Linked DNA regions of Homo sapiens: region 2 is linked to region 1. Evidence: promoter capture Hi-C in human tissues and cell types (Jung and others, 2019). All regions are on one chromosome and are shown on one strand. The core of a region is centred on a gene start or on the middle of the fragment in contact, and the rest is flanking DNA. Distances in the headings are between cores, read along the strand shown.

Region 1 (6,511 bases), core at 3,060-5,559:
TTGAGTGATTTTCTGTAATGATAAGGTTTGATTCCTTCGTTTGTGTACCAGCTGTATAGTTTTGCCTGTTTTTATGATGGTGGTTATCATCTTTTCACTTACAGATGTAAGATTCCCTAGAGCATTTCTTGTAAGGCTGGTCTAGTGGTGATAGATTCCCTTAGTTTTTGCTTGTCTGTGAAATATTTTATTTCTCCTTCATTTCTGAAGGATAGCTTTGCTGGTATAATATTATTGGGTGCCAGTTTTATTTCTTTCAGTACTTTGTATATATTATCCCATTCTCTGTTGGCTCACAAAGTTTCTGCTGAGAAATTCACTGTTAGGCCTACGGATATTTTCTTATATGTAACTTGATACTTTTATCTTGCTGCTTTTAAAATTCTTTCTTCATCTTTGACTTTTGACAATTTGACTATAATGTACTTGAGAGAGGATCTGTTTGGGTTAAATATATCTGGGGTCCTTTAAGATTTCTGAAACTGGATGTCCATTTATCTGCCAAGACTGGGGAGATTTTCTGATATTATTTTATCAAATATGACTTCCTCATATTTTTACCTTTCTTCTCCTTCTGAAATACCCATAACATGGACATTTGTTTGGTTAATGATGTTACATAAATCCTTTGATTCTTTTTTTTTTGTCTGCCTGTGTTTTTTCAAAATACTTGTCTTCAAGTTCAGAGATTCTTTTTTCTGTTTGGTCTAGTCTGTGACTGAAGGTCTTAATTGTGTTTTTTTTATTTTATTTATGAATTTTTCAGCTCTAGGTTTTCTGTTTGGTTCTTTTATAATATCTGTCTCACTGTTGAATTTCTAATTTAAATCATGAATCATTTTCACAGATTTGTTGAATTGTCTAGATGTATTCTCTTATATCTCGGTGAGTTTCCTTAGGAGAATTATTTTAAATTCTTTTTCTGGAAGTTTATACATTATGATTAGGGTCTGTTACTAACAAATTCTTATCTTCTTTTAGAGGTGACATGTTTTCCTGCTTTTTTATTGCTGATATGTCCCTGTGTTGATTTCTACTTATCTGGTGGAAAAGTCACCTTTTCCAATTTTATGTAGTAGGTTTCTTAGGAAAAGTCTTATTTGTTTAAATGAGTCTTGGGGTGACAGTTCAGTGGAATGTGTTGACCTTGGTTCTAGGTAAACCCAATAGTGTAGTCTCTGTATAGTTTCTTATAAATGAGTCTTGGGGTGTTGGTTCAGTGGAATGTGTTGGCCTTGGTTCTAGGTAAGCCCAATAGTGTGGTTTCTGTGTAGTTTCTTCAGCTGTAATCCACACTAGTGGCATTTGTGAGTTTCTTGGTAGCCTAGACTGAGAGAGTTTATGGCAGTGGTGGTACAGCTTTGCCAGGGGTGGGCTTGCTGGGCTGTTTCTCAGGTTAGGGACATGTGCATGCACTTGGTGGGCCAACTAACTCAGGGTCTACCTTGCTGCAGTTGAGGCCATGGGGCTGTTACTCTTGGCTGCATGGGAATGTGGTTGCTTGGCCAGCTTGGTGACATGTCTGCCAGAGGTAGCCCACAGGGGTGTTTCTCAGGCCCCAGACACAGTCACGTGGCTTCTCAGCTGTGGTGTGTGTGTTTGCTGGGGGTGGCCCACAGGGCTCTTCCTCCAGCTCAAGACATGGGTGTACAGCTGCTCATTCAGCCTGGGAGTGTGTCTACTAGGGGCAGCTCATGAGACTGTTTGTTAGGCCTGTGATGTGGGCACAAGTCTGCTTGGCTGGCCTATGGTTGGTTCCCAGGGCTCTTTCTCAGGTCCAGCACATAGGTACACAGCTGCTTTGCTGGCCTGGGAGTATGTATTTTCCCTGTAATGAGAAGTCCCTCCTGTTTCTGGGCCAGTCTGATCTGGACTGGGGAGACATGGATGCAGAGTCTGCCTTCTTGGATTTTCCATCATCACAGATGCATCTCCACTCCCTTGCTGCATTCTGGTGCTCTCACATTGACACTCCAGTCTAGTCTTGGCTGTTTATTCATTGTCTTGGTCTTTTCTTGTGGGAGAGATGACAGTCAGGTATCTCTAATCAGCCATCTTGCTCTGACTAGATTTTTAAACTAGATATGATTTTTTTTTTTCTAGAGACAGGGTCTCGCTCTGTCACCCTGGTTGGAATGCAGTGGTGTAATCATAGCTCACTGCAGCCTTCAACTCCTGGGCTCAAGAGATCCTCCTGCCTTAGCCTTCCAAGTAGTTGACTCTACAGATGTGTGCCACCACCCTGGCTATTTATTTATTTATTTATTTACTTTTAAGAGACAAAGTCTCTCTATTTTTCCCAGACTGGTCTCAAACTCCTAGCCTCAAATGATCATCCTGCCTTAGCCTCCTTAGTTGTTGAAATTACAGGCATAGCCCCCAGTTCCAAACATATGATCTTGACTTTAGTAGCTTATAACATAATTGTGGCTGGGGTAAGTAACTCCTAAAGCAGGATAAATTAGACTAAGTGGATAAAAAAGATGTGTAGTAATAATACTTCAGTAAGTCTATAACACTTTGTTAATTCGAAGCTACTTATTGAACACTATGATAGTTGATCCTCATACAATCTTGTATGCTAGGTGCTAACATATCTGATTTCAGATGTAGTTACTGAAGTCCAAATAGCGTAAGCTCGCTTGGCTAGTGGGAGACCTAAGGAGATCCCAGGTCATTTTGCTACAAAGCCTGCTCAGGGTACCATATTTGCCTTCTCTGACAAATTTACTAACAGTTTTCTCCTTCCCTTTTATTGATCATGGATAATTATATGGTTCCACCCTTTACCCTTAACTTGTAGTTTCTGCAATCACTTTTATTTACATGACTTCTCAATATGTGTCTTGATATCTTTTTCTCAGCTCTGATCTCATGCTGATGACTCACTACTGACCATTTGCTCTTACATGTACTTTCAGCACATGAAAGTCAGGTCTAAATTCTACCTCTTTATTTATCTCTTTACTTCCTTATTTCTAGGCCCTGGGGTTGAGACTTTAGTAACCTTTGACACTTGGTCTTCCCTCTCGATTCTTCCTTTATAACCATTAATCTAGCAAATTTATTAATCCTCTATCACTACAAATACTTGAGGCCTAAAGAGACAAGGTTGTCCCAACTAACAGATAAACAGGTTTGATTTTTTTAATTCAAGGAAATGTTCTTGTGCAGAGTAGGATAATAAAAGTAACCATTTAATATAACTCGTGAAAACTAATGGCATTAATATGTGTAAAGCATTTAGGATAGTTCCTAGCACATGGTCAGCACTTACAAAGTATAACATATTAGTACTAGTATTAGTATTCTTAATACTAATGATACTAAAATATGATTGGATGATGTTTTTTAAAATGTCAGCTTTGCACTTTGTGCAGATTACTCATTTTCTACAAATGACATAATGTATATAAAACTTTCTGCACAGTGGTTGATACATATGTGTTTATACATGGTAATTATTCCCCAACATAGACCTCCAAGGTCCCATCTAACTCTAGAATTCTATATTAAATACATATATAATTTATGCATAGGTTTGTATATCAATGAGTTGAAAATAATAAAAGTAAAGTCAGATTAAGTATAATGCAGAAACAGATTACTGCTGATATTGCTTTCTCAGGAGTGAATGAAGGCCATTTCAAATGAAGACCTTTCAGTTGCCATCTTTTTTCTCTGATCAGGTTCTGTAATTTCTTATGAAACTTGTACTTGGTCTTCTTGGTATGCTGTGATGGTTGCTGCAGTTGGGTCCAACCTTGTGCCACCAGAAGTCTGAGGGTTAATGTGTGTGTGTGAGAAACATTGTATTGACTCATATTCATGTGTCACATATGAAATCACACAAATTAGAATGTAATTTTGAAAAGTTAGGAAAAAATAGAAATAAATAAAACAAAGAAGCACTATACAGAAATCCAAGTTTTGGAAGGAGGGCAGTTCTGCAACAAAAGGAACAGAGTTAAGAATAGTTCTTCCTACACTGCTTCCTGCTTGGGCTTCATCTGCTCCTCAGGCAACAAGACTTTAGTAAAGCCCCAGTTGAGAGGATTTTGAAGAGTAGTTTCCATGGCAACAGGCTTTAAAATGACATACATCCAGAAGAACTTTTCTTGGTTGTTCTACCATCCAAACAGGAATCCTCTAAGGCTCCCAGAGAAAAGTCAACTTTTAATGAAGCCGGAGTCTTGCTTTCTGTGCCCTAAGGAGCACCTTTCCTGTGGGACTCATTTCATGCTTGTAATAATGACTTATTTTCTTAAATTGTGAGTTGACTACAGTGGGAATGAGAGCAAGGATTGAGGTTTCTCATAATCACTGAGGGAGTGGCAGATTTCTAGGTATAAGAGTTACACTTGAGGCATCTTGTTTCTGAGCAGTGACTAAAATACATTCCACATGTGGCAGAGGAGCAAGCTCTGAGGTATGTTCAAATGTTACCCAGCACTTATACACAAAACACACACACGTGTGTGCGCACACACACCCACTACACACACAGGACTGGAAGAAGGGTGGTAATTAGCTTGCTGCATGGAGGTCAGACAGCTGCCAATGGGGCTCTAATTGTGAAGCCACCACTTCAGCTGCCTTATCCTGACCAAAATGTACCTCTCATTAACTGAGTGCTGTTTGAAATTTCATAACTAGAGATCTATTTTTTTTTTGCTAAAGACTTTGTCTTCATTTTAAGAAATGCCTGGAAGAGGGTGAAGAATGTGGATTGTCCCCAGCAAGTTGTAGTAGACTGTGTGCTGATGAATTTGTGAGATTCTTCTTGAAAACTTAGTTTTGACAGAGAATTGAAGGAAAGTAGCACTAAGATTGTGAATGTTGGGGAAGAGGAATTTTTGCTGAGACTAGGAGACTAGAGATGGGTATAGGAAGAGAAAATGGGAGGCTGTAAAGAAACCCTTACCTGATTTTGGAATTTGGCTTTTGTGGTGTGATAGAATGTGGATATTTGAAAAATAGGCATTGGTGGTAGGACAGGAAGTAGGGACAGGGTAATATACTCAAGGGCCTGATGTTGTCTGTGGATTGGGTTATGTTGGAGAGACAGGCCTTAAAGTTTGAAGAGTGTATTGTTCCCAGGCTCTTCTCACTCTTGTCAGCTGTCTCCTCTGCCCTATGGCAGACCCTCTCTTGTCTCTTTCAGGCTCATTCAGCTTTAAGCAAGATTTTTCCTTCCCTCATGCCATCCCTAGGATATATGCATTTCATATTTGTTTTATGTCTATTTTCTACAGCATTTATCAGGGCTCTTTCTTTTGTCAACCACTCTTCTCGGCTCTTCCACTTTCATGATTTAATTTAACTCTCACAACAACGACACTGTGAATTATCGCCATCATCCCCATTTTATAGATGAGGAGATTGAGAATTAGAGATTAATGAACATTTTGTGAGCTATATGATTCAAAGATATAAAAGTGAATAAAACTACAATGTTGCTAGCATCATTATAGTTCATGGAGGGACAGGACAGTAATACATTGTGAGTAGAGCTGCAAGAGATCTAAGAACAAAGTACTGTAGGATTTGTCGTGGCTAATCCCTATTAAGGTGTGAGCCGATAATTATTTGAGATTACTCCTTCTGGCATTTAGGTGTTTTGATAGGTCATGCTCAAGACATAAAAATTCTCTGAAACATGGTACTGAATAATTTCAGGTCCTTGATGAATTTACTGATGCATATTTAGTTTCTTGTCCTGGAATCAAAGAGACTTGGGTGAGGATGCTTCCTCCCAGGTGGAGTAAGGAACATTTTGTTGAAACCTGATCCGAATACTGTTTTAGGAGTACCTTAGCTGGGATTTCCATAAAAAGCTGTGCTGGGGACAAGGCCATACATGCAGATAGCTTATTTTTAGAAGTCATCCCAGGGAAAAGAGAGAGAGAAAAACAGGGAAGTATAGAAAACCAATAAAAGGTTCTGTTATATGTTACCTTAATGGGGAATTTAGGATTAGTTCCTCTGAGATCTTTTGATGTACTAAGAAGAATGAACCACTGGAGATACACAAAAGGGAGACATTTACCCACTGACTCCCAGGGGTGTTAATTCCTTCACGCTTACAGATCAGCACGTGCACCATAATGGCTGAATGGATTCTCAGATGTACCACTTTGTGGTGGCAGAGGTGTCCTAGGGCTGAAAGGAGGGGATACGTAGTGTAGTCAAGAAACATTGTTATTGGGCTATAGCTGGATGCAGCTCACTGCCACAGCAACAGCAGAAGCCCAAAAGATAGGCTGAGTAATATAAAATGAGGCATAAAACATGTGCAACACAGAGAGCTTGGTGATGGGACCTGAACTCAGACCTGGTGAAAATATTCAGGATAGTAGGCAGAGAACAACACAGCTAGAAGACAGGGCCAGCGTTATGTGACTTGTCATGTGCTAAAAAGCTTAGAAAGGCCTTTTGCTCCATTTACCTGCTACTTGTTTTGAAAATTCATCCTTTATCTTATTGCTGGTGCTTTGAGCTATGGCATCGT
Region 2 (6,896 bases), core at 872-3,371, 34 kb before region 1:
TGCAACAGCTCTTACATAAATTTGCTGGTGGTTTTTATTATTGTGACCGTTGGCATTGGGGTGCCGATTGTCACCATTTTTCTCTCTTATGGTTTTATTCTTTCCAGCATTCTCCACATTAGTTCCACAGAGGGCAGGTCTAAAGCCTTCAGTACCTGCAGTTCCCACATAATTGTGGTATCGCTTTTCTTTGGGTCAGGTGCTTTCATGTACCTCAAACCACCTTCTATTCTACCCCTGGACCAGGGGAAAGTGTCCTCCATTTTTTGTACTGCTGTGGTGCCCATGTTTAACCCATTAATCTACAGCCTGAGGAATAAAGATGTCAAAGTTGCCCTGAGGAGAACCTTTTGCAGAAAATTAGTCTCTTAAAAATGAATGAGAAAGGGAATCCAAACCTTTGTTAATCAGGGGGTTTCTTTTCTTTTTTTCAGTGAGGGAACAAATGCCACTGCTTTCTCTCCTATACTTAGAGAAAAATTTTAAATGTATTCTTAAGTGCACTTACACCCTGCACTGCTTATCCACACCAACTATTCCAATTGTTATTTTATGAGAATAGTTTCTACTGTTATACAGGGTTTAATCTTGAATAGGCTTATGAAATCATTTACTCCAGTCTCCTCATGCAATACATCACACTCAAAAATATTTTGTAGGCTGCCAAAGGACACACATGTACCTGATGCCAGAGCTGAAACTAGAGTCCAGGCTCTTGAATTTTAATACAATCTGCTGTGTTTTTCTTCAGCTACACTTCCTTGTTCCATCGTTTCCCTGACTGATTTCATTTAAAATTTTTTTTTTTGCATTTAAAGATATCTAATTATATTCATAGTGATGTCATGCAACTTTTCAAAGGTTAATTTTTGGAATAACATTTTTGCAAGAGTGTTGGAAGTGAAAAATGTGGTTGATGTGGTCTTGACAAAAAGATAAGAGAAAATTTTAAAGAATTTTGGGGTGTGTGAGTGAGAAGTAGATTAGGTTCCTTATAGAATCAAGGATGGTGCCCATGGAGATGGTATAGAGCCTTGAGTGAAGGCTTACAATAGAAGGCCTTCTAAGGGAGAGATAAACAGAGTTGAGGGAGTTAAATTTGTTAGATACAAGCTTTATTCTTCATCTGAAGATTAACGGAGACAGAATTTGGAGCCTCACCTCAAAGGTCTGAATAATGTAAATTAGTAATAGACAGCTCTGGATAAGTGAGCCATTAGAACCACGGCAGCCAACTAGTTGTTAGGGGAGGCAATTGCCATTATATAGTTAAGACATTGCATATATCTGTGACCTTCTATTAATAACAATAGGGCATAAAGGGAAGGGACGGTGGTCTTAGGAGAGGTCATATATTCACAGCATTGGGTAAGTGGAAGTACAACTTTGTATAACGAATGAGAGTAATTTTTTTGATCTGAATACATTAGTAATGGTAACAATTATTTCAGAAGTCATGGCATATGAACTGTCTGGAAGATAGTTTAATTTACAAACTTTGAAAAGTTATCTTCTATTAGAAAAAGGGGAAGTTCGGATTAATGTTTAGCTTTCTTCCTTTGGAATCTTTTGGTTTAACGAGGATAGAATTCAGGAAATGAAAGTGTAGGGGAGGGTTGTGTTTTGATGCTAAGGGAGATGAATGATGATGAAATTCAAGACACATGGATTGAGGGTGCACTGGGAATGGTGGAGAATCAGTACAATGAAAACACCCTACTCCTTCTTAAATTGAAATATAAATTTTACAGTGAAGTGCACAAACATTAACTGCTCGATGATTTTTTTTCACATTTATAAGGCTATGATTACTTACCTCCACCCAAATGAAAATATAGCAGATTTTTTATCATTTCAGGGTACTCCTGCCTGCCCTTTCCCAGTAATTACTACTCCCCATGCTCTTCCTGGAAATATTCACTATTCTTACTTTATCATCACAGTTTCATTTTTCTCGTGCTTGAACTTCATATAAATGTTAAATAGTGCATTTACTTTCTTACGTTTCACTTAACATAGAGAGTCATGTGAGATTCATCCATAACAGTTTTCTTGGTTATTGCTGTTTATTTTAGTATTCCATTGTAAGAATGTAGAGCAATTTGCTTATCAATATCTTCTTTATGGACATTTGCCTTGTTTTCAATTTCTACATGTTATTAATAAAGCTGTTATAAACATTCCTTTTTTTTTTTTTTTGAGACATAGTCTCGCACTGTTGCCCAGGCTGGAGTGCAATGGCACGATCTCGGCTCACTGCAACCTCCACTTCCCGGGTTCAAATCATTCTCCTGCCTCAGCCTCCAAAGTAGGTGGGATTACAGGCACCCACCACCACACACAGCCAATTTGTGTATTTTTAGTAGAGACAGGGTTTCACCATGTTGCCCAGGCTGGCCTCCAACTTCTGACCTCGTGATCTGTCTGCTTCGGCCTCCCAAAGTGCTGGGATTACAGGCATAAGCCACCATGCCTGGCCTATAAACATTCTTGAACATGTATTTTGCTGGAAATATACACTTATTTTTGTTTGGGTATATACCTAGATGTAGATTTTATGGGTCACAAGGTAGGCATATGTTTAGGCTTCTAAATGCTATCAAATTGTCTTCCAAAATATTTAAACTGATTTGCACTCCCATCAATAAATTCCAGAAAAGGATACTCTTCATCCTTATTTTCAGTATTTTTCATTTTAATTACTCCGTTGGGTGTGTAGTACAGTATTGCTTTAGTCTTTTAGATATTTCCCTGATAAATAATGATTTTTTTTTTTTTGACGGAGTCTTGCTCTGTCGCCTAGGCTGGAGTGCAGTGGCATGATCTCGGCTCACAGCAACCTTCACCTTCCAGGTTCAAGCAATTCTCCTGCCTTAGCCTCCCGAGTAGCTGGGGTAACAGGAGCCTGCCACCACACCTGGCTAATTTTTGTAGTTTTACTAGAGACGGGGTTTCACTATGTTGGCCAGGCTGGCCTCGAACTCCTGACCTTTTCTTAACAGACAAAGTCTTGCTCTGTTGTCAGGCTGGAGTGCGATGGTGTGATCATGGCTCACTGGAGCTTTGAACTCCTGGGCTCAAGCTATCTTCCTGTCTCAGCCTGCTGAGCAACTGGAACTATAGGTACATGCCACCACACCTGGCCACTTTTTCTATTTTTTGTAGAGATGAGGTCTCACTATGTTACCCAGGCTGTTACCAAATACCTGGGCTCAAGTGATCCTCTCATCTTGGCCTCCCAAAGTGTTGGGATTACAGGTGTGAGCCACCACACCCAGCCTTGTTGGGCACTTTTTATATGTTCATTAGCTATTTGGACATCACCATTTGTGAAGTGCCTGTTCAAGTCATTTGGCTACTTAAAAATAGTGTTGTTGCTGGGCACGGTGGCTCACACCTGTAATCCCAGCACTTTGGGAGGCCAAGATAGGCGGATCAAGAGGTCAGGAGATCGAGACCATCCTGGCTAATATGATGAAACCCCGTCTCTACTAAAAATACAAAAAAATTAGCCTGGTGTGGTGGTGGGCACCTGTAGTCCCAGCTACTTGGGAGGCTGAGGCAGGAGAATGGCATGAACCCAGAAGGCGGAGGTTGCAGTGAGCCGAGATCGCGCCACTGCACTCCAGCCTGGGCGACAGAGTGAGACTCCATCTCAAAAAAAAAAAAAAAAAGTGTTGTTATTCTTTTTTCTTATTGATTAGTTTTTTAAAACGTATAATCTGGATATGAGTACTTTTTCAGACACACACATTGCAGTTATCTTTACTCAGTCTCTGGCTTGCCCCATGACTACTCATTAATTATGTCCTTTGATAATGATATTTCAATTTCAATTTGAATAAAGTTCATTTGTCCACTTCTTTTACTGTTCATGCTTTCTTCTGTTTAATTTTTTTCCTACTACATAGTCACAAAGTCATTCTCAGGTTTTCCTTTGAAAGCTTCATGATTTTTCCTTTAAAATTTAGATTTTAGATCAATTTTAAATCAGTTATCATGTATGGTGTGCAGTTGTTTTATTTCTTTCATAAAGATATTAAGTTGCATCAGCATCATTTATTGAAAAGACCTTCTCTCCTCCCTGAATTGTATTGGCTATATTTGTACGTGTGTATTTGAAGATCAAGTGACAATAATTTAGTGGGACTAATTTGAGAGAAGTTGACATGGAGCCAAAGTGCTGTATTCTCCCATTACAATGGTGAATAGTAATGAGGAAAACAGACATGCTTTTCTTGTTTCGAAGTGGAATTTCATACCTTTCATACCTTTTACTTTATTTTAAATAACTTTTTAAAATTTAATTTTCAATTATTAGTAGTATGTAGTAGCACAGTTGTTTTTTGTATACTGAATTTGTATCTAGCATCTTTGTTATTTCACTTATGAAATCTAATTGTTAGCTAAACTCGACAAAAGAGAAACTAAGAATTTGTACTTTGTTTTTTCTGTATATACTCATGTAATCTGCAAATAAAGACAGGTTTGATTCTTCCTTAATGGTCTTTATACCTTTTATCTATTTTATTTTTTTCAGTGTCCTGTCTAAGACTTCCAATACAATGATTAATAGAGATGAGAATGGATGACCCTGTCTTGTTTCTGACCTTAGGGTAAAGGCATTAAGGCTTTCACTGTTGAATAAGATGTTTGCTGTAGGATTTGTTTTCTTCTGCAGATGGCAGTAATTAGATTATGGGTGGGTGATTAACAGCTTCCACTTAAGAAGGAATACATTTTTCTTGAGAATACATGTCATGGTAAAAAATTAAACAGTACAAAAAAGTATACAGTAGAAATAAGGTTTCCTTTCACATCAGTTCACCCATGCTTATGTTCTTCCTCCTGGATGCAACTATTCCCAGAAATAGAATAGGTATACACAAGCATATCTCTGTACCTTCTATCTATCTACCTACATATTTATGTATCTAGAGACCCTTTTTTGTTTTGAAATTTAATAAAAGGGGATTTAGGGATGTATCTTCCAATGGAAATGACTTAAAGAGGAGGGAGCATAGGATATTATTAGGCAACAAGAAGAGAAATCAAACACAGAAGAGGCATGGGTTAGAGAATGAACAGGACAGAAGAGGATAGAGGAGAGGAGAGGAAGCAACACAGATAACCCATGGTAATTTCAACTCTGGCAACATTTTGGTTTCTTCTGATTTTCCACCTCCACCCCGTGATTTGATCACCTGTATCTTTGCTTGATTGTTGCTGTCCCGGAGGAAGAGACATTGAGCTCTTAAGATACCAAAATGGCAAACATTTTCAATTCAACAAACACTTATGTATTAACTTACATATCTGTTTTAAAAAATAAGAGATGGTTTGAGCTCAGAGAGGTTGGAAGTTATAACTCTTATCCTCACAAGTAAAAAGCCAAACAAACTCAAAATCAACCACTTTTCTTAGAGCCATCAGAGAATTGAGGTCACAGAACAAACTGACTCCCTGAAAACTGCAGGAAGAAGTGAGAAGAGAATAACTGCTTATCCAGAGCAGAAGCTACTGGAGTTAGTATGCATGTGTGTACATATCTATATGAACACAGAACACTTGAGAGGTAGTTGATGAATTGCTGGAGTCTGAGTGTGGACCAGCTTGAAAGGTAAAAACTCCAGGGAACCCAGTCTTGGTGGGGGAGTCCCCATACTGTTGGGAGTTCTACCTCCAGGAGACCCACCGGGTTTTCATGGTGAAGATCAGAGTCTAGTTCCACTAGTGTTGGACAGGGAGAGGGGAAAAGGAACCATTTCAAAATACACTCAGAGCTTTTTGTTCTCACTTAACCTCCCAGAAAACCATACTTCAGTCTACACAATATTGGGGAAGTGAAATTCCTAACTTCAGTCCCCTCCCGCTCCCTCTAGTCTGTCTCACCTAAGGAGTAGAAAGAGCTGAGAAGCACTTGTGAAGGTCACAGCCCCAGGGAATAGGCCAACAAAAAGGCCGAGACTTAATCACAGCAATAGAGAATGTTTTGTCTCCCACCCACACTTTACTATCACATCCATTAATCTCCTGTATAAAAACAGGGGGTTAAAGCACAGCTCAGACTCTGTTTAAGAGAGTTTCTAGGGAAATCCTGAGACAACATGAGGAGACAAGATGGTACTAGAGAAAGTTGAAGCTTTAGACACCTACAGCTACAGTAAACAGTAAACAGTAAACAGACAAAACAAGCAACCATACTAAGGTATAAGGGAGGATGTTGGAATGATCAGACTGGGAATTTAAAACAGCTATGATTAATACGCTCAGGGCTCTAATAAAAATAGCAGACATCTGGCAAGAACAGATGAGCAATGTAAGCAGTGAGATGGAAACTTCTAAGAAAGAATCAAAAGGAAATACTTAAAAAAACAAAAACCACTGTAAGAGAAATGAAAAATGCCTTTGATAGACTCATAAGTAGACTGGGTATGGTAGAGGAAAGCATCAGTGGTCCTAAAGATATGTTAACTGACATTTCCCAAACAGAAATGTCAAGAGAAAATAGAATGAAAAAAATGGAACAGAATACGCAAGAATTGTGGGACAATTATAAAAGGCATGACATATGCATAATAAAAATACTAGAAGAGAGAAAAAAATAAAAAATCCAGAAGAAATATTTAAAATAATAACGGCTAAGAATTTTCTAAAATTAATAACAGACATCAAAACTATACATCTAAGAACCTCACTAAACAGTAAGCAGGATAAATATTAAGAAGTCTACACCTAGCCATATCATATTCAAATGGCAGAAAACCAGACAAAAAAAAATCTTGAAAGAAGCCAGAGGAAAAATACCCATCTTACTTGTATGATCTTATCTATAAAAGAATAAGGATAAGAATTACATTAGACTTCTATTCAGAAACCTTGCAAGCAAGAAGAGA

The links. Contacts are between HindIII fragments. The study calls those that stand out against the background at their distance.
Region 2: a fragment that was not itself captured here is called in contact with the fragment with the promoter of OR8B8 in region 1 in 1 of the 25 tissues and cell types used here (H1 embryonic stem cells).

What each region holds. Positions count from the first base shown.
Region 1 is chr11:124,443,494-124,450,004 of GRCh38, reverse strand. It overlaps OR8B8 (olfactory receptor family 8 subfamily B member 8), which reads left to right and starts at 4,309. Exons shown (of 3, transcript NM_012378.2): 1 at 4,309-4,429. The HindIII fragment of the contact is 11,421 bases long and covers 1,839-6,511 here.
Region 2 is chr11:124,474,473-124,481,368 of GRCh38, reverse strand. It overlaps the pseudogene OR8B9P. Among named protein-coding and RNA genes, the nearest start is that of OR8B8, 32 kb to the right of the region's middle. The HindIII fragment of the contact is 5,845 bases long and covers 1-5,043 here.